Linked DNA regions of Homo sapiens: region 2 is linked to region 1. Evidence: promoter capture Hi-C in 16 types of primary human blood cells and fetal thymus (Javierre and others, 2016). All regions are on one chromosome and are shown on one strand. Each heading gives the region's core, a stretch centred on a gene start or on the middle of the fragment in contact. The rest is flanking DNA. Distances are from core to core; before and after follow the strand shown.

What was found. The method cuts DNA at HindIII sites, captures the fragments that hold promoters and counts their contacts. A CHiCAGO score of 5 or more calls a contact.
Region 2: a fragment that was not itself captured here is called in contact with the fragment with the promoter of DNAJC3 in region 1 in 1 of 17 cell types (total B cells); the score reaches 5.2 in total B cells.

What each region holds. Positions count from the first base shown.
Region 1 is chr13:95,674,576-95,681,400 of GRCh38, reverse strand. It overlaps DNAJC3 (DnaJ heat shock protein family (Hsp40) member C3), which reads right to left and starts at 4,262. Exons shown (of 12, transcript NM_006260.5): 1 at 4,064-4,262. The coding sequence starts at 4,145. It overlaps DNAJC3-DT (DNAJC3 divergent transcript), which reads left to right and starts at 4,476. Exons shown (of 2, transcript NR_132117.1): 1 at 4,476-5,549; 2 at 6,733-6,825. RefSeq lists silencers at 3,882-3,971, 4,202-4,441 and enhancers at 4,082-4,131, 3,478-4,324, 4,962-5,061, 4,325-5,172. The HindIII fragment of the contact is 3,320 bases long and covers 2,795-6,114 here.
Region 2 is chr13:97,966,829-97,973,653 of GRCh38, reverse strand. IPO5 (importin 5) reads right to left here. Exons shown (of 29, transcript NM_002271.6): 3 at 3,824-3,931. Among named protein-coding and RNA genes, the nearest start is that of IPO5, 17 kb to the right of the region's middle. The HindIII fragment of the contact is 4,000 bases long and covers 1,375-5,374 here.

The DNA of each region.
Region 1 (6,825 bases), core at 3,013-5,512:
CCAGCCTGGGTGACAGGGCAAGACCTTGTCTCGAAAAAAAATTGAAAATAAAAATAAAGATAAATGAGACTAATCAGCAAAGTTGTCTCCATTTTCCTCCGTCCGTGTTTACCTATAAGGTATAAAAACAGTTGGCCAAGTTGAATTTAACCAGTGTTGGGTTTTGGCAGGTGAGTAAAACAGAAGATTACAGGGGCCAGAAAATAAATGGGCATTTGCAGTACACTAACTACAATAATGGACCACTCAGTCTAAAGCGGGAAAGGAGAAAAAGAGGACGTGAATGCTTCACAAATGCATGTCTTAAACCCTAAGTGGTCTGTAAACTCAAAAGCAAAAGCCATGAGTTCTATGCTACGTATATATACCTCACCAAAGAGCAATATAGTTAGTAAAAGCCTTTGCTGACTGATTAAATGAGTCTTCTCCATATTCCAGAACTCCAAATGATACAAACTCATCAGATTTAATTTTTTTAAGTAGCTTTCTAAAGATATGGAAAGAAAAATAAATCTATGGTTGAAATGTTTGCGTTCTGAAGAGCAGGTGAATGGGTTCCCATGATACTTCCATATAAACAAAGATTAACTGCAGGACACTAATCAAAAGAGACCACAGCAGTAGAAATTAAACTTAACAACAATTAATTAACTTCATATGGGAAAATAAAACCTAATTACTACAGTGCATCCCCTCCCAGAACAACTTCCCCTACCTCACAGAATGAAAACCACTGCATTTCCAGGCAGTTTCTCAGCAAATACTAACTATGTCAAGAGAACTGGAACTTTGATACTACTGCTAACTACAGCCTATCTTATTAAAGAATTTAAAATAATTCTAGAAAATATGTGACCACCTTTTATGATACTTAATTTATTTAAATTACTTAAAGTCACTCATTTTTGCTACTTTATTCTTTCCCTATTTAGATAATGTCAAGAAAATCCTAGAAAAGACAAAACATACCTTTAATAGGTTAGGTTCAAATAAAACTTATCATGGTTCAAATAAAACTTATCACAATATTTTATACGTATAGATTTTCAACTATATATTTTCAACTATTCTTTTCCCCATGGCCAAAATATATGGTTTAATCAGCTCAATGAAATAAAGAAAAATTGGGTCCAGATAGCATGTTAAGGAAGAAAAAGAGATAAAACTATGATAAGAGAAAAAAGGTTTCGTTCCCAGGCTGTGTTGCTACTCAAGTCACCAAGAGGACAAACCATTAGCAAAGAAATGAAATAACTTCCTTATCTGTAACATGAGAATACTAAAGCAGATACTACTAAAGTTTTCTTTCTATTCCAAAAATTCGATCTCATCTAGTGCTTTAGACTTCACTCTTTCAAACGCCTTTGAGAAGGGAGGGTGCCAAAAGACTCAAACTTTCAATTCATGATATATACTTTCTGTCTCTGGATGACAATTAACAGAAAAATCTAGAAGAAAACAAAGGCAAATATTTCAAAATCAGAAAAACACTAGGTTATCTCTTCCCCATCCTGTGCCACTCTTAGTTCCACATTCACTTCTCTCATAACCATTCTCCTTCATTTCTTTTTTTAAAAGTGAATTGTATTGTATATATTTGATGTTTACAACATAGTATTATGAGATATACACACATAAAATGGTTACAATAGTGAAGCAGATTAATAAGAGTGAAGCAGATTAATATATCTATCATCTCACATAATTACTTTTTGTGTGACAAGAGCAGCTAAAACCTACCTATTTAACAAAAATCCTTAATACAACACAATTTTATTAAGCCTCAGGCCTAGCAGTAGCACCATTTGCCTTTCAGAGAACTATGAGATTAGTGAATCCAGACACAATTTATTTGGGAAAACAGGGGCTAACGGTTTGCTAATTCAAGTCAGAGTTCTTACCTTTATATCCCTATCACCAAATCCAGTGTCAAATACATAGCAGACACCTAATTTAACTCCTCTATATAATTTATTACACCAGTGGTTCTCAAGTGTGGTCATCCAGGGTCTTTCTAGAAACGCAAAATTTCAGGTCCCATCAAGACCTAATGAATCAAACTCTGTAAGTGGGGTACAGCACTCTGTTTTAAAAAGCCCTCCATGTGCGATTCTGATGCACACTCAAGTTTGAGAACCACTGTATTAAACCTCCCAGGAAATAACCTTCTTGTTAATTACAAAAAAAAAAAAAAAAAAAAAGTGCTGATTTTTTTTCTCAGCTGCCATCACTTAAAAGTGCTTGGACTCACATGATGTTGTCAACTACTTAACTTCTGTCTCCAGCGTGCACACAAAATGAACTTTAGTAAAACCTTTGGAGCCTCAGTTCCCTGGTCTGTAAAGTAGGAATGAATACCACACGCTTTCGTGAATAAGATATGGCTTACAGAAAGGCTCCTTTCTTTCCTTTTTCTGTTACCTGTACTAAGTCCCTGCTATTTTACACAGACAATGGTCCTAAAGAAGACACTCTGGCACTCCTCTGAGAAATGTCACCAGTGCCTCCTACACAGAAAAGCTCTCAAATGTGGTTTTCTTATGGAAAATACCACAGGAGGGAAATGAAGAGTTAAGAGTCCTTACAGACTCATATACAGAACAGCAATTCTAAAAAGTAGTGGGAAAAGCAATCATTCAAAATTGTGCATCTCTGTAACTTAAAAAAAAAAATCACCATTAAACAGAACATAGGCAACTTTCTCTTAAGTGTCCAAAATAAATTATTAATGATAACTGGAGATAAATACTACAGATGAGGGATGGTGGGGTGCGGGGGCAGGAGGAATGAAGCTTTTGAAAATGCAAAAGAACTAGAATATATGACCCATATTAAAGTGGTACAGACCTTCAAATTCCAATCCCCTAGATTTTTCTGGGGGCAGCCTCACTGTCAAATTCTTTGTCCCAATGTTGCCACACTACGTGTTCTGATTTGGGGTTCAAAAAATATGGTTACCAGGGGAAGCAAAAGCAAAAGCCCATTGCTATGGGTGACACCTAAAAACTGGGGAGTACTACTTTAAAAAAAAAAGTTGAGAACTTTCAGAAGAATTCACTATAAACAATTCCCAATTTTTAGTTCCTCGCTCCCTTTGAATGGAATACTCAAAGGTTTAATTTGACCTCCTTGACAACTAGCCCTTTTTATGGGGATGAAAATAGATCAGTGCATGTGATGTGTCATTACACTCGAATATTTCGCACAGTAACCGCGCCAGAAGCATTCGTTAAATCGGCACTATCAACTTTAATTCTTACTCCTCCCCGCTGCCATCTAAGATAGGACAGCCCTCTATTTTCGCTATTCTGGAGTAGCCAACATTCCAGTCTGCAGGACTGAAGTGAAATTTAATCGTTCGTATCTTTTTAAGGGAACCTTTTTACAGCGAACTTGGAAAAGTAATGCCAGCCATACGTTGAATGACACCATGTTGGGAGTTGTAAAACCACAAACTCAGTGCCTGGCCGTCCGGGAGATGGAATTCCAACAGCGGCTCCTCATTGCACCAAACTAACAATTTCTCTACACGACAGTGCATCTTAATGGGGATGGTTACACACTTTTTAAATAGTCAACACTGTCCCCTCCAACTCCCAGCCGGACATGACACTCCTTCCCCACCCAAGAACTCCAGAGCGAAGGAAGTCTTTTGGCCACCTTAGTGCCTCCTCCCAGCCAGCACCAATGACTGACAGTGTCCCCAGGCGCCCAGCGAGGGTCCCAAGCGAGGCCAGGACCCAAAGGCTGCCCAAGTCTCCGCGTCCCAGGACTTCCTGAAGTCGTAGCCCGGTGCCCCCGCACCCCGCCTCCTCCGACTCCTGCGGCCCGGTTCCTTAGTCCAAACCCGCTGTCCCGGCCCCGCGGCCCGCCAGTCCCCTCGATTCTTCCCCAGACAAACCCGGAACCGGGCGCGGGCTCAGGCCCAAGCCAGGCCGCGGGCTCCCCCAGCGCTCGCCCCACCTCCCGAGCCGCTCCGGGACAGGCGCCCGGGCGCAGACGGGAAAGCGCGGGGGGCCTGGTCCGGGAGCCCACTTCCTGGCCGGGGCAGGGCAGGACTCACCTTCGTACTGCAGATCCACCAGGACTAGCAGGAAGGGGAATACCGAGCCCAGCCGGCTGGTCACGGAGCCGGGGGCCACCATGTCCGAGGGCTCGCGAGTGAAGAGGAGGAAAGGTGTGTGGCCCACCAGCACGCGCCGGCGCTCCGGCAGCAGCTGCGCCCGCCCGCCGTCGGCTCTCGCTCAGGCCTCAGTGGCTCTGGAGCCCAGCAGAGGAAGGCAGCGGTGGGCGGGGCCCGGGCGACGCTACGCCCCAGAGCGCCGCCGCCATCCAATCGCCTTCTTTCTGGCGGCTTTCCTCCCGGGCTCGCCGGGGTCGTGGTTCGCGCTGATAGGCTGCGGAGGCCGCCGCCCCGCCCCGTCCCTGATAGGATAACGTGGAAGCACGAGACGAGGCTGCGCCCGCCGGTCGCAGAGCTGTCAGCAAGCTCCAAACCGCGGCTGCCGCCCGGAGGGAAGCAGACGGGGAGTCGGTGGCGGCCGCCGAGTCCGCATGCGCAGGCTGCAAAGGCCCTTTTGGGCCGGTCCCGCCGCGCTAGGTTGGCGAGTGGGACTATTTGATCCTTTCCAGGTTCGCCAGCGTGGTGTTACGAGAGGAAAGCGCAGCCGCAGCGTACGAATGGGAAGGCCAAACACGGTCCCGGGGAGTCTGAGGGAAGCTGCAGGGCGCCTGGAATTGGGGTCTCGAGTGAGCCGGTAAAAACCGCCTCCCGCTGAGCGTCCCGGAACAAATACTGTCTGAACTGAGCCGTAAGCAAGAAACGGTCAGGAGAAGCTGGGGCGATCTGATGATTAGAACATTTCAGGGACTACCAGAGAGAAGTGCGTAATTGCTCTAAGGCAGGTAGGTAATTGGCCTGGAAACTTGGGAACGCCCCGCCCCCCACCCCGACTTTCAGCAAACCACCGTGCCCAGGAAAAAGAGCGATTGTGGAAGACCCTGTGAAGAAGAGACCAGGAAGGCACTGTGGCTTAAGAGAGCAAGGCGTTCCTGAATGCAGCCAACATCAACTGGTAAACAAAAAACTGTGAGAACGGATCCTGAATCTTGCGCTTACCAGGGGAAATTCAGGAGAGATATGAACCTGAGCAAGATGAGGTTGAAGTTACTCAATGCGGCATTAAGCCTGTTCACGGCCACTTCCTCCGGCGTCACCAACACACACACTGTACACCAGCAGTATTTTTACACGGGGTATGTGTGTTAAGTACTATCAGGTGGATAATTATTACTTCACCTGTATTTGCTGCCTTGATACCATTAGAGAAACTCATGAATTATAAATAGCATAGTGAATTTGTGATTCCCTGAAGATATACTAAGGTGGACTTTTAAAAAGGCTTCTATTCCAAAGGGAACTAATATGGAGGAAATGGTTTCGAGAAAGAAAAAAGAAAAAACGGAGTCCTTGATTAGTTGTGGGGAAGGCAACATAATGTAATGTGAAGAATAAAGGAGTCAGATCCAGGAAACCCCATAACTATTATGTAAGTTATCTTCATCTGTAAAGTGGTTAGGATCCTGATAGTCTCAAAGGTTTGTTTTGAGGTTTCATGAAGCAGATAAATATTCTTGTAAATTGTAGAATGTTATACCAGTGTTACTCATTATTCTAACAAGAGCAGAGTAGTGAAGAGAGGCTCCTTCAGAAATTCCTTGGGATTTTTTTTTTTTTGGCTTCTGTTTTTTTATATCACAAGGTAGTGTCTCTGAAAAATGGTAGATGATTTCAATGTCCACAAATATGCAGGTGTAGACATTCAATTGAGGTACTGTACCCAAGGCAGCCAGCAAAATGCTGAACATAGAAAATAACTTTGTAAACAAAATGCAATATTTCTAGACAGTGAGTTATCACCAGTGTGCTGCCTATGACCCTGGCCTTAAGGAAAAAGTAGCAGAGCTGAAGAAGTTCTAAGGATGGAAATTAAAAATTATTAAGGAGATAATAGACTTCGTGTTATAGGAAATAAAAATAGCAAGGGTCTTCAATGGTGAGTGATTTTGAGATTAATTACATAACTATGAATTCTGTAATATTAGAACTAAGCTTTACAAAGCATTCCTTAAAAAAAGATAATTTTACAACAAAGGTAACATTAGACAGAAAAAAATGTACAAAACTAAAATTAAGTGATTAATGCTTGGGAATGTTTCCTCCAATGTTCATCTAGTCATGGTTTTCACGAATCACTCTTGCCAATAAAACCGAAAATCAAAGTAATCTAGTGAGTGTAAGAAAAGTTACTGTAAATATGTTTGCATTCGTCAGACTCTATGGAGTCTTTTTGAAGTTAAACATTAAATCTCCACTGTAATTCATACTGTTAATTATAGTAGCAAAAGACTTAAAAAACAATGGTAGCATATTTATGATATATCCAAAATTAAGAGTATTATGCAATTTTTATTAGGTTGATCTATGTTTATTGACTAGGAAAAACAATGTTGGTAGAGAGGAGTGAACAGATCTAGAACATATTTTGTAGGTAAAGGGAATAAGATTTGTTTAGGAATTAACTATGAGGAGAAATAAATGTTCAGAAACAAGTAGAGCACTTATAAACACCTTTTTGTGCCAAATTAAGAACAAAAAAGTCAGCATTAAGTTAATGCCACCATATACATCCTTCCACATTTATGTTTACAAACTTGTGCTTTTATTTCTAGGAAACATTTCTAGGCTGGGCGCAGTGGCTCACACCTGTAATGCTAGCGCTTTGGGAAGCCAAGATGGGAGGATTATTTGAGGCCGGGAGTTTG
Region 2 (6,825 bases), core at 2,125-4,624, 2.3 Mb before region 1:
TTAAATATCCAATCAAAAGGGAAGGAGAAGAATTTTAAGGTTAATGAATGAAGAGACCACCCCGCCACCCAAAATGGGAGAAATTCCAGTAAACTTGGGGTAGATAGCAGATGTCCTGACAATGGAGACTGGTTCTGGTGTCCAGAAAACCTCCTAAGTGGGGACTGTATTTTCGGTAGCAGGCTTGCCATTTTGAAGAGTTTATAATGCTCAGCCTTCTGGGAAGTTTACTGCACTTAGAAGCCCATTTCCCATAGACAGTGTCCTTATTGTTTATAAGAGTATCATTTTCTTATAAGAAAATAACTCAGGGGCTGGGTGCAGTGGCTCACGCCTGTAATCCTAGCACTTTGGGAGGCGGGTGGATCCCCTGAGGTCAGGAGTTTGAGACCAGCCTGGCCAACAGGGCGAGACCCCGTCTCTACTAGAAATACAAAAAAAAAATCAGCTGGGTATGGTGGCGCATGCCTGTAATCCCAGCTACTCTGGAGGCTGAGGCAGGAGAATCGCTTGAACCCAGGAGACGGAGGTTGCAGTGAGCCAGTATCATGCCACTGCACTACAGCATGGGTGACAGAGTGAGACTCCCTCTCAAAAAAAAAAAAAAAAAAAAAAGAAGATAAAAGAAAATAACTAAGATATTCCATAAAAACAGCCTGCAGGATTATAGATTTATTTATTTCCCAAGGAGATCAAATGGTGGAAGGTAAAGAGCCTTGAACTTGAGTCTAGGGGATTTGTATCTTTAGTCTCTTACTAGCTGTGTAACCTTGAGTGCTTAATGTCGCTAAGCCTCAATTTCTCATCTATAAAATGGGGATAATAAAAAGTATATTATTAATCATAAAAGTTCTTCTAGCATTAACTTATAATTGGAAGTAAAAATGCAAGGATAGAAAACTTTGAGTTTTGCTTACTCCGTATTCGCTGCCATTGCTTTGGCCGCATTAAAATAAAAAAACAAAAACAAAACTGCCCCGAAGTAATGTACTTAGTGGTTTATCTTGTGAATGGCCAGCTCCTTTCCCTTGCAGTTTATTAGACTTGGCACTACTTCCATTAAGTGCTGGAGGCAAATTTGCTTGGAGCATTTGCAACCCTTTACGAAAAGGGTGAGGTTGGGGGAAAGAAAACAAAGTCTCTCTCAACTGCTACTTGAAATCTAGGTAGTTTAGGATTTTTGCTGTTAGGAAGTACTGCACAGCCTGGGCATGACCTATTTGTAATACTGCAGGAGACCAGGCTCCTTAACTAGAGAGCATCAGAATCTCTCCCACTACTGCTCTTAGTTTTATGGGCTCCCATGTTGATGGGAGTGTTCTGGAAGTGGGAGAAGGTTGGAGAAGTTAGGCTTGTAAGACCTCTGTGAAAGCTTTTCTCAGCTGGGATAGAATTTGGTTTTGTCTGCCCTTTCTGGTTTGCAGAGTGCTGAATGCAAATAACATAAGATTCTCCCAAGTGAATAATCTAATTTTGTTTTAAGTTGTCTCGGGTCTCTATGACTCCTTATCTTGGTAGTTGTAAGCGCTATGCTCTTGATATCACAATTTATTATGAGGGTCAATTTAGATGGTATAAATCAAAGTGTTATAATCTGTAACTACACCAATGTAAGCTGATGGCATTATTATTTTTGTTAATAATTAACCTGGTACAATGAAAAAGAATGCTGGCTTTGTTTTCTCATCTGTAAAATTGGAATGATAGTTCTTCATAGGAGTGTTTTGAAAGTTAGGATAATATATGTAAATTCACATAGTATGGTGTCTGCATAAGTAGATACTCAATAATTATCTCTTTTATTAGTAAGATGGATTTGGGAGTTAAATGTGACCTTAAACAAGTAATTACTCTTTTTGTTTGTTTTTTTAGAGATGGGGTCTTGCTATATTGCCCAGGACAGTCTTGAACTCCTGGGCTCAAGCGATCCTCCTACCTCGGCCTCCCAAAGTGCTGGGGTTACAGGCTTGAGCCACCGCGCCTGGCCTTAAACAAGTAATTACTCTTAAGGCTGCAGCTGATGCATAGTCATGTGCATCACATTTGTGTTTATATAAAATCTACTTGCGTATTTTCTATTAGTCTCCCAATTGTGCAGAGTGAAATAGTGTATGGAATGGATTACAGATATTCAATAGACACTTGGCTGATAAGTAAGATTTCTGACTCTAATACTGATGTTTTCTGTTGCCTAGATAAGAGCCAGCAAAAAAAGTTTGAATGGTTGAAAAATTATTGAAAATATGCTGAAATATTCACATTTTTTTCAACTGCTTTTTATCAAAACTTTCAAGTTCCTGCTCTGAAGCAGTCTGTTACATACAGTCAGTGCACCTCAGCCAGGGGCAAGTGGGACCCTAACAATCCTGAAGGACACTGTGCACAATAGGCCCTCAGTAAATTGTGGAATGGAACACAGGCAGGGAAATTTTGACTTGATTGTTTTCTTTTGCGCCCTTTCTTAGTTTTATATTTGAGATTCAGTGGATATCTGCAGATGGAGGGACTCATTTTAGGGAGGCTGGGAGCAGAGGCTCCAGAGCCGGCCAATGTGCAAGTTCAAATGATAGCTTCACAGCCTACATGCTGTGTGATCTTGCCCAAGGTAACCTGTCTCAAGCCCAGTTTCTTCTTCTCTGAAATGGGTGTAATAGAAGTATTTTTTACTACTGATTAAAATACCTGGCAGTAGTGCCGGGCACAGAGTAAATGCTTAATAGATAGTGGCTGTGATTGCTAATACAGATTGCAACCTCTAAAATTTGTAACTTTAATTTTGATTGGACATCTACCTGTTAGACTATTGCATTTTTATATTCTCATTATATAAGTGGTCATGTTACAGGAATGCATCATAATTGTGGTTAAGAAAAAAATCAAGTTTGATTTGATTATCACAGAGCTATTAAAGGCTATTTCTGGCTTTCAATGCTACAGTTGCAATGCTCATTATGGTAGCCACTAGCCATTATGACTGTTGACCAATTGAAATATGGCGTGTTTGAACTGAGGTATGCTTTTTTCTTTTTTTTTGCGACGGAGTCCCACTCTGTCGCCCAGGCTGGAGTGCAGTGGCACGATTTCAGCTCACTGCAACCTCTGCCTCCCGGGTTCAAGCGATTCTCCTGCCTCAGCCCCCCAAGTAGCTGGGATTACAGGCGCCCGCCACCATGCCCGGCTAATTTTTTTTTATTTTTAGTAGAGACGGGGTTTCACCATCTTGGCCAGGCTTGTCTCGAACTCCTGACCTCGTGATCCACCCGCCTCGGCCTCCCAAAGTGCTGGGATTACAGGCGTGAGCCACTGAGCCTGGCCTGAGATATATTTTAAGTGTAAAATACACAGTAAATTTCAAAGACTTAGTAGGAAATTAAGAATAACAATTTTATATTGGTCACATGTAGAAATGTTAATATATTGTGTTAAATAAAATAGTTATATTTATTGATAAACTATTGTTAAATGTATTAATTTCACTTTTTTTTACTTGTTAAAAATATGGCTACTAGAAATTTTAAAATTGCATATGTGATTTGTATTTGTGGCTCATATTATATTTCGATTGGGCAGTGCTTTGCTGGAGAATAAAATAGCCAACTAGCTACACATAGGTGTCCTACATACTTTGTACATTGACATTTAGGAAGTGACTTTTGGCTGGGTGTGATGGCTCACGCCTGTAATCCCAGCACTTTGGGAGGCTGAGGTGGGAGGATTGCCTGAGACCAGGAGTTCGAGACCAGCCTGGGCAACATGGCGAGACCTTGTCTCTTTTAAAAAAAACAAAACAGGAAGTGACTTTTCCCCAGGTGAAATCAGTTACCTTATTGTGTTTTCTGTTGCTTCTAGTTTTCCAACTTGATCCTCAGGCATTTGAAGACATGCTGCAGTACTTTCTGAGCAGTGTTCCCTTAGGAATTTCTTTCCTCTGCTGATTTGACAGAAACAGAATGGTGGACCATTAGATGGTACTTAATTTTGAAGATGATATTCTTAAAAATCACATCTGATTTTGAAGAATAAATCCTTATCAGTTAAATCAAAGACTGGTTAAGAGTTGGAGAAAATAAAAATACCTTTTCTTGATGTTGTTTTCATTTAAAAGTGGTAAATGGATTTTTAAAAATCATTTGTTGCATTTTAATACCTGAAATAAAAATATACTTAGCAGAGGCCGGGTGCAGTGGCTCACGCCTATAATCCCAGCACTTTGGGAGGCCAAGGCAGGCGGATCACGAGGTCAGGAGATGGAGACCATCCTGGCTAACACGGTAAAACCCCGTCTCTACTAAAAATACAAAAAAATTAGCTGGGCGTGGTGGTGGGCACCTGTAGTCCCAGCTACTCGGGAGGCTGAAGCAGGAGAATGGTGTGAACCTGGGAGGCAGAGCTTGCGGTGAGCTGAGATCGCGCCACTGCTCACCAGCCTGGGTGACAGAGCGAGACTACGTATCAAAAAAAAAAAAAAAAAAAAAAAATATATATATATATATATATATACTTAGCAGAAAGATTTCATTTCTAAGTTAAATGATTTTTCTTAGAACACAAATAGGTTGAAAGTAAAAGGATAGAAAAAGACACACCATGCAAACAGTATTCAAAAGCAGATACGCAGCCTGGCCAACATAGAGAAAACCCGTTTTTACTAAAAATACAAACTTTAGCTAGGCGTAGTGGCAGGCGCCTGTAATCCCAGCACTTTGGGAGGCCAGGGTGGGTGGATCACTTGAGGTCGGGAGTTCAAGACCAGCCTGGCAAACATGGTGAAACCCCGTCTCTACTAAAAATACAAATGTTAGCTGGGTGTAGTGGCAGGCGGCTGTACTCTGTTACCTGGGAGGCTGAGATACGAGAACTGTTTGAACCTGGGAGGCAGAGGCTGTAATGAGCCGAGATGGTGCCACTGCACTCCAGCCTGGGTGACGGAGCAAGACTCCATCTCAAAAAGACAAAAAAACAAAAGCAGGTGGAATGGCTCTCTTAATTTTAGACAAAATAGATTTTAAGACAAAAAATGTCATTAGAGATAAAGAGGACATTTTTATAATAAAAAATTCAATCAGGAAGATAGAACAGTTTTAAACACATGTGCCTAACAGCACCAAAATACATAAAGCAAAACCTGACAGAATTAAGGGAGAAATAGATAATTCAACAAAAATAGTTTGAGACTTCTGTTCCCACCTTTCAGTAACGGATAGGATAACTAGATAGATCAATAATAAATGGAAGACAAAGAATAAGATAAACCAACTACACCTACAAGACAAGTGTAAGACACTCCACCCAAAAGCAGCAGAGTAAACATTTTCCTCAAGTGAATATGGAACATTCTCCAGGATAGACCATATGTTAGGCTGTAAAACAAGCTTCAGTCAATTTTAAAGGATTGAAACCAACAAAGTATGTTCTCTGACCACAACAGAATAAAATTAGAAATCAAGAACAAAAGGAAATTTGAGAAATTCACAAGAGATTAAACTGCATACTCCTAAATAACAAGTGCGTCAAAGAAGAAATCACAAGATGGCTTGGCACGGTGCCTCATGTCTCTAATCACAGTGCTTTGGAAGGCTGAGGTGGGAGGATCCTTTGAGCCCAGGAATTCAAAGTTACAGTGAGCAATGATCGCACCACTGCATTCCAACCTGGGTGACAGACAGAGTGAGACCCCTTCTCTATATTGAAAAAAATCACAAGAGAAATTAGAAAATACTTTGAGCCGGGTGCGGTGGCTCATGCCTGTAATCCCAGCATATTGGGAGGCCGAGGTGGGCGGATCACAAGGTCAGGAGATCAAGACCATCCTGGCTAACATGGTGAAACGCCGTCTCTGCTAAAAATACAAAAAATTAGCCGGGCGTGGTGGTGGGCACCTGTAGTCCCAGCTACTTGGGAGGCTGAGGCAGGAGAATGGCATGAACCCGGGAGGCGGAGCTTGCAGTGAGCTGAGATCGAGCCACTGCACTCCAGCCTGGGCGACAGAGCGAGACTCAAACAAACAAACAAACAAACAAACAGAAAATACTTTCAGATGAATGAAAACAAAAATATAAGATACCAAAATTTATGGGATAGCAGTGATAGCAATGCTCATAGGGACACTTAGAGCTGTCCTTATCAATTAGAAAAGAAGAAATCAATAACCTACTTCCTTAGATACTAAAGAAAGAAGGGCAAACTAAATCCACAACAAGCTGAAAGAAAGAAAGCAAGAAAGAAAGAGAAAGGAAGAAAAAGAGAAAGAAGACTAAAAGGAAATAAATGAAATAGAAAATTAAAAAAGAGAAAATAAAAATAACCCAAAATTGTTTCTTTGAGAAGATCAACAAAATTCACAAACTTTTGGCTGTACTGACCAGGAAAAAAAAGAGGAGACTCAAATACTAAAATCAGGAATGAAAGAGGAGACATCACTACCCAGCTTTCAGAAATAAAAAGAATTAGAATACTGTACCCAATTGTGTGCTAACAAATTAGATAACCTAGAGGAAATGGACACATTTCTAGAAAAACGCAAATCAAAAGTGATTCACGAAGAAATAGAAAATATGAATAGATCTACAGCAAGTAAAACTATTGAATTAGTTATTTTATTTTATTTTATTATTTTTTGAGACAGAGTCTTGCTCTGTCACCCAGGCTGGAGTGCAGTGGCGTGATCTTAGCTCACTGCAACCTCCGCCTCCCTGGTTCAAGCAATTCTCCTGCCTCAGCCTCCCAAGTAGCTGGGACTATAGGCACACACCACCACACCCGGCTAATTTTTGTGTTTTTAGTAGAGATGTGGTTTCACTGTAGTCAGGTTGGTCTTGAACTCCT